Linked DNA regions of Homo sapiens: all the other regions are linked to region 2. Evidence: promoter capture Hi-C in human tissues and cell types (Jung and others, 2019). All regions are on one chromosome and are shown on one strand. Each heading gives the region's core, a stretch centred on a gene start or on the middle of the fragment in contact. The rest is flanking DNA. Distances are from core to core; before and after follow the strand shown.

Region 1 (3,039 bases), core at 17-2,516, 280 kb after region 2:
AAATGTGACAGTAAGTGGAATGTGCTTTAACCAAAACTCAATATTGAAGGCAAGACTGACATACAGTTCCTATTATAGAGTCTCCTGATCTGATTTTAATCATTTATAGGGTACTGTATCAGTGACATTGCCACATTTCTCTGTTACAAACAGTAACTCACAGACTTTGCTATATACCTTCTTCTTGTAGCCAGGACAAATTAAGATCAGCCACTATCTTTGGCTGTGAGGGAGAGAACAAACTCTCAAACAGCTGCTATTCTTTATGATAACATAGAAAGAGCAAAGCAGGTTCACTAGTTTCTTAACCTTGGTTGTTCTTCCCTCTTTTTCCCCTCCCCAAAGGGCTGTTAACCACCACATGATGCTCATAAAATATTGTCATTTTCCCACTGAAATGGTTATGAAAGTACCTATTTTGCATTTTATGAGAACACACTCATTTAGGAATGTGACCTGTGTAAAGTAATGTTTATATTCCTGAACATACAGCGGCAGCTGACAGACTTTGCCTGATCCTAGTTGCTGCTTCATGTCATGTGGGGTGCCTTTGGTATTACTTACCAATTTTATAGCCCATTAGAATGTTTGACAAGAAGGAAAAATGTAATTGTGTACCTTAAATTTATATTTACCTGGAACTTTTAATGTTTATAGTATGTTTGTATTAATTTTTAAATGCACATAAATTTCAATGTGCTAGTTACTGCAACCTGACAATTTGAAGAAGAAACAAACAGAACAACCAGATTAAATGTAGATGTGAAAAAGTGCCAAAGGGAGTGATTCCATGCACGGACACACACACACACCCAATTTAAAGGATGTCTGGAAAGACAAAAAGCCCAAAAATCCATTATCATCACAAAGAACCATGTAGAAAAGAATTGTTAAGAGTTGTTCTAGGATCAAAATTCTCCCCATTTTAAAAGGAACTTCCTTGAAGCTTTTCATCTCAGCTGCAGGAATAAACTGTAGTAAATTTTTTTTATAATTATGATAACAGCCACAAAATATTACCCACATTTTAAAAATCTCCTTTCTGAACAGATTTGCTTAGTAAGCTTTTAAAAAGCTTTAAAAAAATATTCCAAAGCAGGTTCTGTAAATTGCTAAAAGATTTTCTTTTCTCAGCTTTTGTGAGTTACATTAAACTTGTGTTAGTTTTTTAAAAACCTGTTAAATAAAATAAATAGGATTGAGTTGAAATTTTGACGTCTTTTTTGAATCTATATATTTGAATTAAAACTGAGATTTTAATTGGCAAATTTAATCCATTAATATTACCTTTGATATATAACACCTGTCCTAGGTGTGTGACTGGTATAATTGCATTCTTCTTTGAGGTAGATGCCAAACAGGTCTAACCTACTCACATTCAGCTGTTTCATTATTTAAGCAGCCTGAGGCTTTCAACTTAAATACTCAAGTAAACATTATTTTAAAAAATAGTTAAAACATAATGGTCTTGTGAGTTGCCCATGCTAAATGCTCACATTTAGTACTTTGGATATATAAAGTACATTCCCTAAATAATTTCATGCTACCTCAGATTTACCCGCCCCTCCCCACACTTGTGTGTCCCCAGAAGAGAGGTCTTTTCTCTGTAAAGTATTAAACATTTGTGTATAGCCTAATAGGAGAGTCTGTTTTTACATCATTATTTTAATTTCCCAAGAAAAGAATTCTAGTCTGTTTACTAGACAGCAATCATGTATTTTCATTTATACAAACATTTACGTGTGTATTTAATTTCAAAAGTTTTGTTTTTTTTTGTTATTGATTACATGGGATTAATTTTTTTTTATAATATTTATTTGGTTCTCAAAATAGCAGACTCTTAGGAAATCTAATGAAATATATCACTGCAGTTGTCATCAATTTGTCTTTAGAGGACAAATAAAGTGATTAATCTAAAAACATTTGTAAAGAGGTGAGAAAAAAAGTTAGTAGGTAAGTTCAGATCAAATTAATTCTGTTTTTCCACACTTGGGATACACCAGTACTGCATTACATCCTAATAAATCTTTACTTCCGGTTGTGAAATCTACTCCACTAGTATAAAATACTTTGCACAATTAGCCCATAGATTACAAGAATTTAGTGCACAGAAGCATTTATTTCGTAACTTATTTTCCTAAGTTGTCTACAAATCTTTCAGAATATCTGTTAGGAGCATTTGCTGGTACACTAGAATTCACAAATATATGTAGTGTGTCATTACTCATATATTCTTCTCCAAGAGTGGAAGATAACTACTGTTTCTTTACTTTCTTGTTTACTGGATTAGACTTTAAGATTGTTCTATTTTAACCCTAGGTATTATATATTAGGTCCAGTATTTATCTCATTTTGTGACAGATTTGATTTTTATATCCAATGACATTAAGATGTCCCATAATTCAGTGGCATTCTATCTAAGATGCAAAAAACAGGTCTGCATTGTACATGATATGTGGGAATGGATGGTCATTAGTGTCTCATGACAGAACCATGTTGTATGAATGCAAGTTTTTTTTTCTTCTTACCCTAAATGAAAACTTAAAATTACCTGTTACATTAAAAATTCAGTTCAGTAGGTTAATTACTATATGGAAGTTTAGCAAATGTTTGTTTTCACCAGTGCTGGAAATGCTAGGCTATTAGACAAAAATGGCAGCTTAAATTGGGCAAATTTGATAAATGCTTTAGCATACTGGAGTCTAGTAATAAGGTTCTCATGCTCTCTCTCTCTCCTGTTTTTCATTTCCAGTGTTCTATTTAGGTGAGTTTTTGAATTCTGATTTTTCATTTAAGTTCTCCCTCTCCACTTCATGAATAATTACCCCAAAGAGAATGTCTCATTGTCTTAGAAACTGTCAAGCTTAGGTGCCTCTTCAGATGCTCATCGAACACTTGTTTTACTCAAGCTCTTCATATATAAATGTTTCTTTTTCCTTATTGTTGATGTTTTCCATTTGTTTCAAGTAAGCCTTCTGGAGATGATGACAGTATTATGTTGCAGTCTTTCATTTGCTCTGTGTTATGTAAAGCTTATAT
Region 2 (3,093 bases), core at 217-2,716:
GATGCAGAGGAGGCTGCACAGTGGTACCGAAACAGCCACCAACCCCAAGGTCCTCAACAATTTTCCACCAACAGCTCATCAATCCCAGCAAAGGGCTGTCCTGGAAGCGGGCCTGCCAAGTGCATGGGTCCCCCTCACCTCCCACCTCCAGCCACAAGCTGAGCCCTCACAGAACTTCCAGGACAACGAGTGTTGCCTGTAGGGGCGGATCCAGGCTTTGCGGAACCTGAAGTTTAAACAATGGGAGGTGGGCTATGGAGGGGGCATTCAACTTTAAGAAAAAAAAGTCAAAATTAGGATTACAACATTGCTAGGCACCCCACCTCCAAGATCTCGGGAGCCGCCAGGGCAAGGAAGGAGCCAGAAGCTCAGAGAAAACCGACATCTGCCAGGGAGGGAGGCAGGCGGCCACTCGGTCTCCGCGGCGCTTTTGCTCAGGTTGACCACATTCCCTGGCTTCAACTACAAGGTGAACTCCCGGGCAAGTTTCCTGTTCTACAAGAGGAGAGGGCTGGCCTTCAATCCCGAGACCAGAGCGAGGGGGTGCCGGGCGGCGGCTGCGGCAGCAGATGGAGATGAAAGCGCATTTCAACTAAAAGGTGTGATCAGTGTCAGGCCTCTGAGCCGAAGCTAAGCCATCATATCCCCTGTGGCCTGCACCTACACATCCAGATGGCCGGTTCCTGCCTTAACTGATGTCATTCCACCACAAAAGTGAAAATGACCTGTTCCTGCCTTAACTGATGACATTGTCTTGTGAAATTCCTTCTCCTGGCTCATCCTGGCTCAAAAGCTCCCCTACTGAGCACCTTGTGACCCCCCCCACTCTGCCCGCCAGAGAACCCCCCTTTGACTGTAATTTTCCTTTACCTACCCAAATCCTATAAAACGGCCCCACCCCTATCTCCCTTGGCTGACTCTTTTCGGACTCAGCCCGCCTGCACCCAGGTGAAATAAACAGCCATGTTGCTCACACAAAGCCTGTTTGGTGGTCTCTTCACACGGACGCGCATGAAAATCAGTGTTCCGACTTGGGTGACAAATTAAGTGCATTTCACCGCCGAGCGAGCCACGGCCCTGGAAGCAGAGCTCGCCCAGGCCAGGGGACGCGGTGCGCTCTCGGGGTCGCGAGCCTCCCTCCCTGCGGCGTCCGCCCACAGTCTGGGACGCGGAATTCCCTGCGAGAAGTCCGCGGTCGCCTGCAGGCTCCTTCCCCCAGTAGGCGGCACGCGCAGTCTCCTGGCCGGGGCAGGAGCTGGGGGCGGACCAACTACAAGTCCCTCTGCACCCCTGCGGGCCGACCGCAGCCCCGACCCCTCGGCGCCCCGGCCCGCCGCCCACCCCGGCGGCCGAGCCCGCGCGGAGCCCGAACCGCGTCTGCGTCCGGGGAGTGCGGGCCCGGCCGGCCCCGGGCGCTTACGGTCTCGGCTCGCAGGCTCCGGCGGCGGCAGGCGCGCGATCTCTCCGGCTCCCTGGCTCTCCTCGGCTAGTTTTCAGCAGCCCCGGCGCAGTCTCCGCCCAAGCCCGGCCTCCGAGCGGGGCGTTCCCCGGCCTGGAGGACCCGGGAAAGTCTCTAGGCCTGCCTAAGGCTCCACCTCTGCCAGGGATAAAACGGGCTACTTAAAGGGCGGTCCGCGGCCCCGCGGCCAGAAATGGAGAGAAGCGTTTGGCAGCTCCTACAGCAGTTTGATCCCGTAACTTCGTCAGTTGAATCTAAAAACAAAAATCCAAACTTGCATGATGTATGTCCTTTTTTTTTTTGGAGACAGAGTCTCACTCTATCACCCAGGCTGGAGTGCAGTGGTGCGATCTCGGCTCACTGCAGCCTCAAGCGATCCTCCCACTTCGGCCTCCAGAATAGCTGGGACTACAGACTGCGCCACCACACCTGGCTAATTTTTTAAGTTTTGTAGATACGGGGGTCTCACTTTGTTGCCTAGGCTGATCTTGAACTCCTGGGCTCAAGCGATGCACCTACCTCCGCCTCCCAAAGTGGTGAGATTATGGGCGTGAGCCACTGCACCTGGCGGTGTATGTCTTTTTAATTTCATCTTTCTAGCAATTCATTCTTAGTATATTTAACAAACATATTGGTCCGTGACATGCTTGGAAATCTAAAAACAAATTAGTGTCTTTATACAGAGAATGTGAGAAGCAATGGTCTGAAGCACTCTTGGGGGTCTTCATGGTGAGGACCAGTATAGGATGCTGAGTTCAATGCCAGGGGAGCAACCTCTTAGTGAATCCCCTCCCGCTTTGGAGAGAGCTCAGGGCCCAGGCGGGTGGTTGCTGGGGCTCTTTTAGCTTCCGTGAGAGCGTTGATCCCCAGCCCCTCATCGTTAGAAAGCCTGTCCCATCGCCTCTGCCATCACCCCTCCTTAGCTTCTCTCTTCACCTGCTCAGAGGTGCAGTTCTTTCAACCACCAGCATCCTCACGATCTCGGTGGACAGACTACAGCTAGGAGGCCACATGCAGGGCCCGTGGCTGGAGTTCTAAGCTTCTGACTGTCACCTTGCACACTTCAGGATAAGGTTCACCACCACCCACCTTCCCTTGGCCTCCAACCTTTCTGCTCACCCTGGCCCAAGAATTCTGGCCGGCAGACGCACTCACCTCACTCCCACCTCCAAACTTTTGCTCTTGCAGTACTGCCGGACAGGGTGCCCTCCTCCATCCACATGTAGAGTCCTCTTGTCCTTTAATTCTACACCCTCCTATAAAAGCTTTCTCTTGCAACTGCAGTCTCTGACATCTCTGTATTCCTTTCAGAACCTGCAGTCTGGGAGAGTTCTTTCCCCTCCCCTCCAAATAGTTCACACAGAAGCTCTGCCTCTGGCCACTTCACCAGGGGACCCAAATTCGTTACTCTTAAAACTGCAGTGATGGTGAAACAGGTAGGAGTCAGGACTTAACGCCAGAGGTGGGGCTTGGACACCAGATTGAGGACCAAATTGAGGACTAGCTAAAACAGGGACTGGGTGGAAGATGAGCATAAGATATGCCCATCATATCAGTGTGCCATGTCAGTTTACCAGGGCACGCCCCTGGAGTTATCACCCCCCTTCCATGGCAATGACCCGAGGACCCAAAAG
Region 3 (3,035 bases), core at 439-2,938, 390 kb after region 2:
CATACACCTATTTCTCAATTTTGGTACTTGCACAGATTAGTAACGAGCATTTCTAGGACCCATGGCTGAGGATGACACTTCGAGTGCTCTAGACCAGGAATAAAGCACAGAAAGTAAATATTTTAGACTTTATGGGAGCGGCTCCAGGCAGTATGGAAGGGAGCAGACATGGCAGTGTTCCAGTACAACTTTATGGACAGTGAAATTTGAATTTTGGATAATTTTCACACTTCAGGAAATACTGTTCTTTTGATTTTGTTTGTAATCATTTAAGAATGTAAAAGCCATTCTTAGTAGGAAGGCCACACAAAAATTGGGGTGAGGGACTTGGCCTGGGGCGTAATTTGTCTACATCCCTAGAAGCAACATAAGGAGATTCGGAGTAGGTGGGGACACAGTGAAACAGTTCCCAGTCATCCAAGCTCATGTTTTATTTTCAAGATCTGCTTATGTGTTTTGTTCAGAGTGAAACTGTGGTACTGTTTTTTTTTTTTTGGTCTGTGTGCTTATTTATTTTGTCCTGTCGTCTCAGTTTTAATCCATGTTAATTATTACCCTTCTTGCATATGGTGTTGGAAATAAGTACAGCTAATTGGTTTAGATACATTCGTTTCATGGAAATACCTTCAAAGAACAGGAATGGAAAGGCTGCATTTGTCTCATGAAAGATGGATCATTATGAAAGCATTTTCCATTGGCTTCATCTGATCCATTCTCAGATCCTAACATTTCCCGTGCTGATTTTAGAGTTAATGGTAGCAGTTCCTGCCTTTGTTATCCTCTTCTAGTGTGGGTCTGTCTGTATGTGTTATGATTTGTGGTAAAGCTCTTTGCCTTCTTCCCCCTTTCTAGCCTTTAACTTCCTTTAGGCAAAGGAAAGGTGGCTCAACTTCCAGTTCCCCTTCCAGACGCCGAGGGAGTCGATCAAGGTCACGCTCCCGATCCCCTGGTCGACCACCTAAAAGTGCCCGCCGATCTGCTTCTGCTTCCCACCAGGCCGACATTAAGGAAGCAAGGAGGGAAGTGGAAGTTAAATTGACTCCGCTGATTCTGGTACTTGTGTTTATCCTTATACAGCCTTTTGTCTTCCGCTTTATGTATATATTTACTCAAGTTACTTGCAGTTAATAATATTAAAATGTCACTGAAACATCAAATCTAAGTTGATGACTTTGGGAGTTTTCATATAAAACAAATGTTTGGAATAGAAAGTTTTAAATATCAATGGAAAAGAATGTCCTTCAGTTACCAGAAATGCTATTTAATATTTTAGTTTTTAAAAAAGCAGCGTTCAAATTTGAAATAGATGTAGCTTGTAGATTGAACTGCGTAAGGTTTTTACAGTGTATAAAAGTTCATATCATGTATGAAATGGTAAGACAAACCTGTATTACGGAAACATTCTTACTCTTAGCATCATTATACTTTATCACTTTACCTATTCAAAGATGATTTTAGTGGAATTACTTTCAAGATGTAAGCTTTGAAATATCAGGGTGCATGGAGCCTGTAGATCTTGTACAAATAGTATTTTAGATAGTAGACCAAAGACAAAGTATGTTAAGTAAAAAGAATAAAAGTAATCTTCTATTCACTTAATGTTAACCTCTTTTCTGGATAGAAGGCACACAGACTTTGAGACAGAGTCTTGCTCTGTCACCCAGGCTGGAGCGCAGTGGCGCAATCTCAGCTCACTGCAAGCTCCGCCTCCTGGGTTCACGCCATTCTCCTGCCTCAGCCTACCGAGTAGCTGGGACTACAGGCGCCCACCACCATGCCTGGCTGATTTTTTGTATTTTTAGTAGAGACAGGGTTTCACCGTGTTAGCCAGGATGGTCTCGATTTCCTGACCTCGTGATCCACCCGCCTCGGCCTCCCAAAGTGCTGGGATTACAGGCGTGAGCCACTGCGCCCGGCAACAGACTTTTAATAAACTTTAAAAACTGGATTATATACATACTGCTCAGTAGTCAGCTTTAAGACATTTTAAAATATTGGGATAACCTTTCAGAGTGTATTTTTCTACATCATTTTTGTTGTTGTATTCTATAGTATGGATATATGGTAAATTGTATACATGTAACTTAATCGTTAAAGTCAGCTCTGTCAATGATAGACATTTAGTGTTTTTCCTTCCATATTTTCACTATTACAAACAAGTATTTTTATGTAACATCTGATTATTTCCTTAGGATGGATTCTTACAAGTGGAACTGCTAGGTCAGCTGTATGGTGCAGATTTGAGGCTTTTAATACATATTGCCAGATTGCATCAAGAAAGTTTATAGTAGTATCAGTGTATGAATGCTCAGTTTCTCATTCTGAGTATTATAATTTTTTTTTTTTTTTTTGGAGAATGTGGCTGTCAGACATTTTCAACTTACTGTTCTAACTTATATTTTGAATTAGAACATTTTAACTATTAGTGGCTCTCTTTACCACCCCGGGACTCCAGGAACAGATGCTGTGTGATACTTTGTTATCCTTTCATTTTTAATATTTAGTGACTGCTATATTTTTACAGTGTAATCTTACAGTCCTGGTGTCACAAGAACCACAGAAGCTTTGCCTCTTACCTGGTAGTGCCTTGGGCCTACTGTGTGTTGCATAAGTACCCACTATTTCTTAGTTTTCCATTATGGGCTATTTTGGAGCAGTGAATGTCTTTTTGAATGTCTTTTGTTTTTTATCCAGTTAATGAACTAATTTACCAATTTTTACTTTCTCTGCCTTTCATAGTAAATACCCCTAAAATCTATCAATGAAATTATGACATTCAGTCTGATTACGTGAAAGATCAAAGTTGTTTTTTTTTTTTTTGAGGCGGAGTTTCATTCTTGTTGCCCAGGCTGGAGTGCAATGGCGCGGTCTTGGCTCAATGCAACCTCCGTCTCCGGGTTCAAGAGATTTTCCTGCCTCAGCTTCCGAAGTAGCTGGAATTACAGGTGCCCGCTACCGTGCGTGGCTAATTTTTTTGTATTTTTAGTAGAGACAGGGTTTCACCATGTTGGCCAGGCTGGTCTTGAACTCCTGAC

The links. Contacts are between HindIII fragments. The study calls those that stand out against the background at their distance.
Region 1: a contact is called between a fragment that was not itself captured here and the fragment with the promoter of EPHX1 in region 2, in 1 of the 25 tissues and cell types used here (mesenchymal stem cells).
Region 3: a fragment that was not itself captured here is called in contact with the fragment with the promoter of EPHX1 in region 2 in 2 of the 25 tissues and cell types used here (pancreas and psoas muscle).

Annotation. Positions count from the first base shown.
Region 1 is chr1:225,530,771-225,533,809 of GRCh38, reverse strand. All of the region lies in intron 3 of ENAH (ENAH actin regulator), which reads left to right. Among named protein-coding and RNA genes, the nearest start is that of LINC02765, 65 kb to the right of the region's middle. The HindIII fragment of the contact is 3,365 bases long and covers 1-2,948 here.
Region 2 is chr1:225,808,497-225,811,589 of GRCh38, reverse strand. It overlaps EPHX1 (epoxide hydrolase 1), which reads right to left and starts at 1,466. Exons shown (of 9, transcript NM_001136018.4): 1 at 1,421-1,466. RefSeq lists a silencer at 1,289-1,508. The HindIII fragment of the contact is 8,152 bases long and covers 1-3,093 here.
Region 3 is chr1:225,420,095-225,423,129 of GRCh38, reverse strand. LBR (lamin B receptor) reads left to right here. Exons shown (of 14, transcript NM_002296.4): 3 at 853-1,053. Among named protein-coding and RNA genes, the nearest start is that of LBR, 6.4 kb to the left of the region's middle. The HindIII fragment of the contact is 4,842 bases long and covers 1-3,035 here.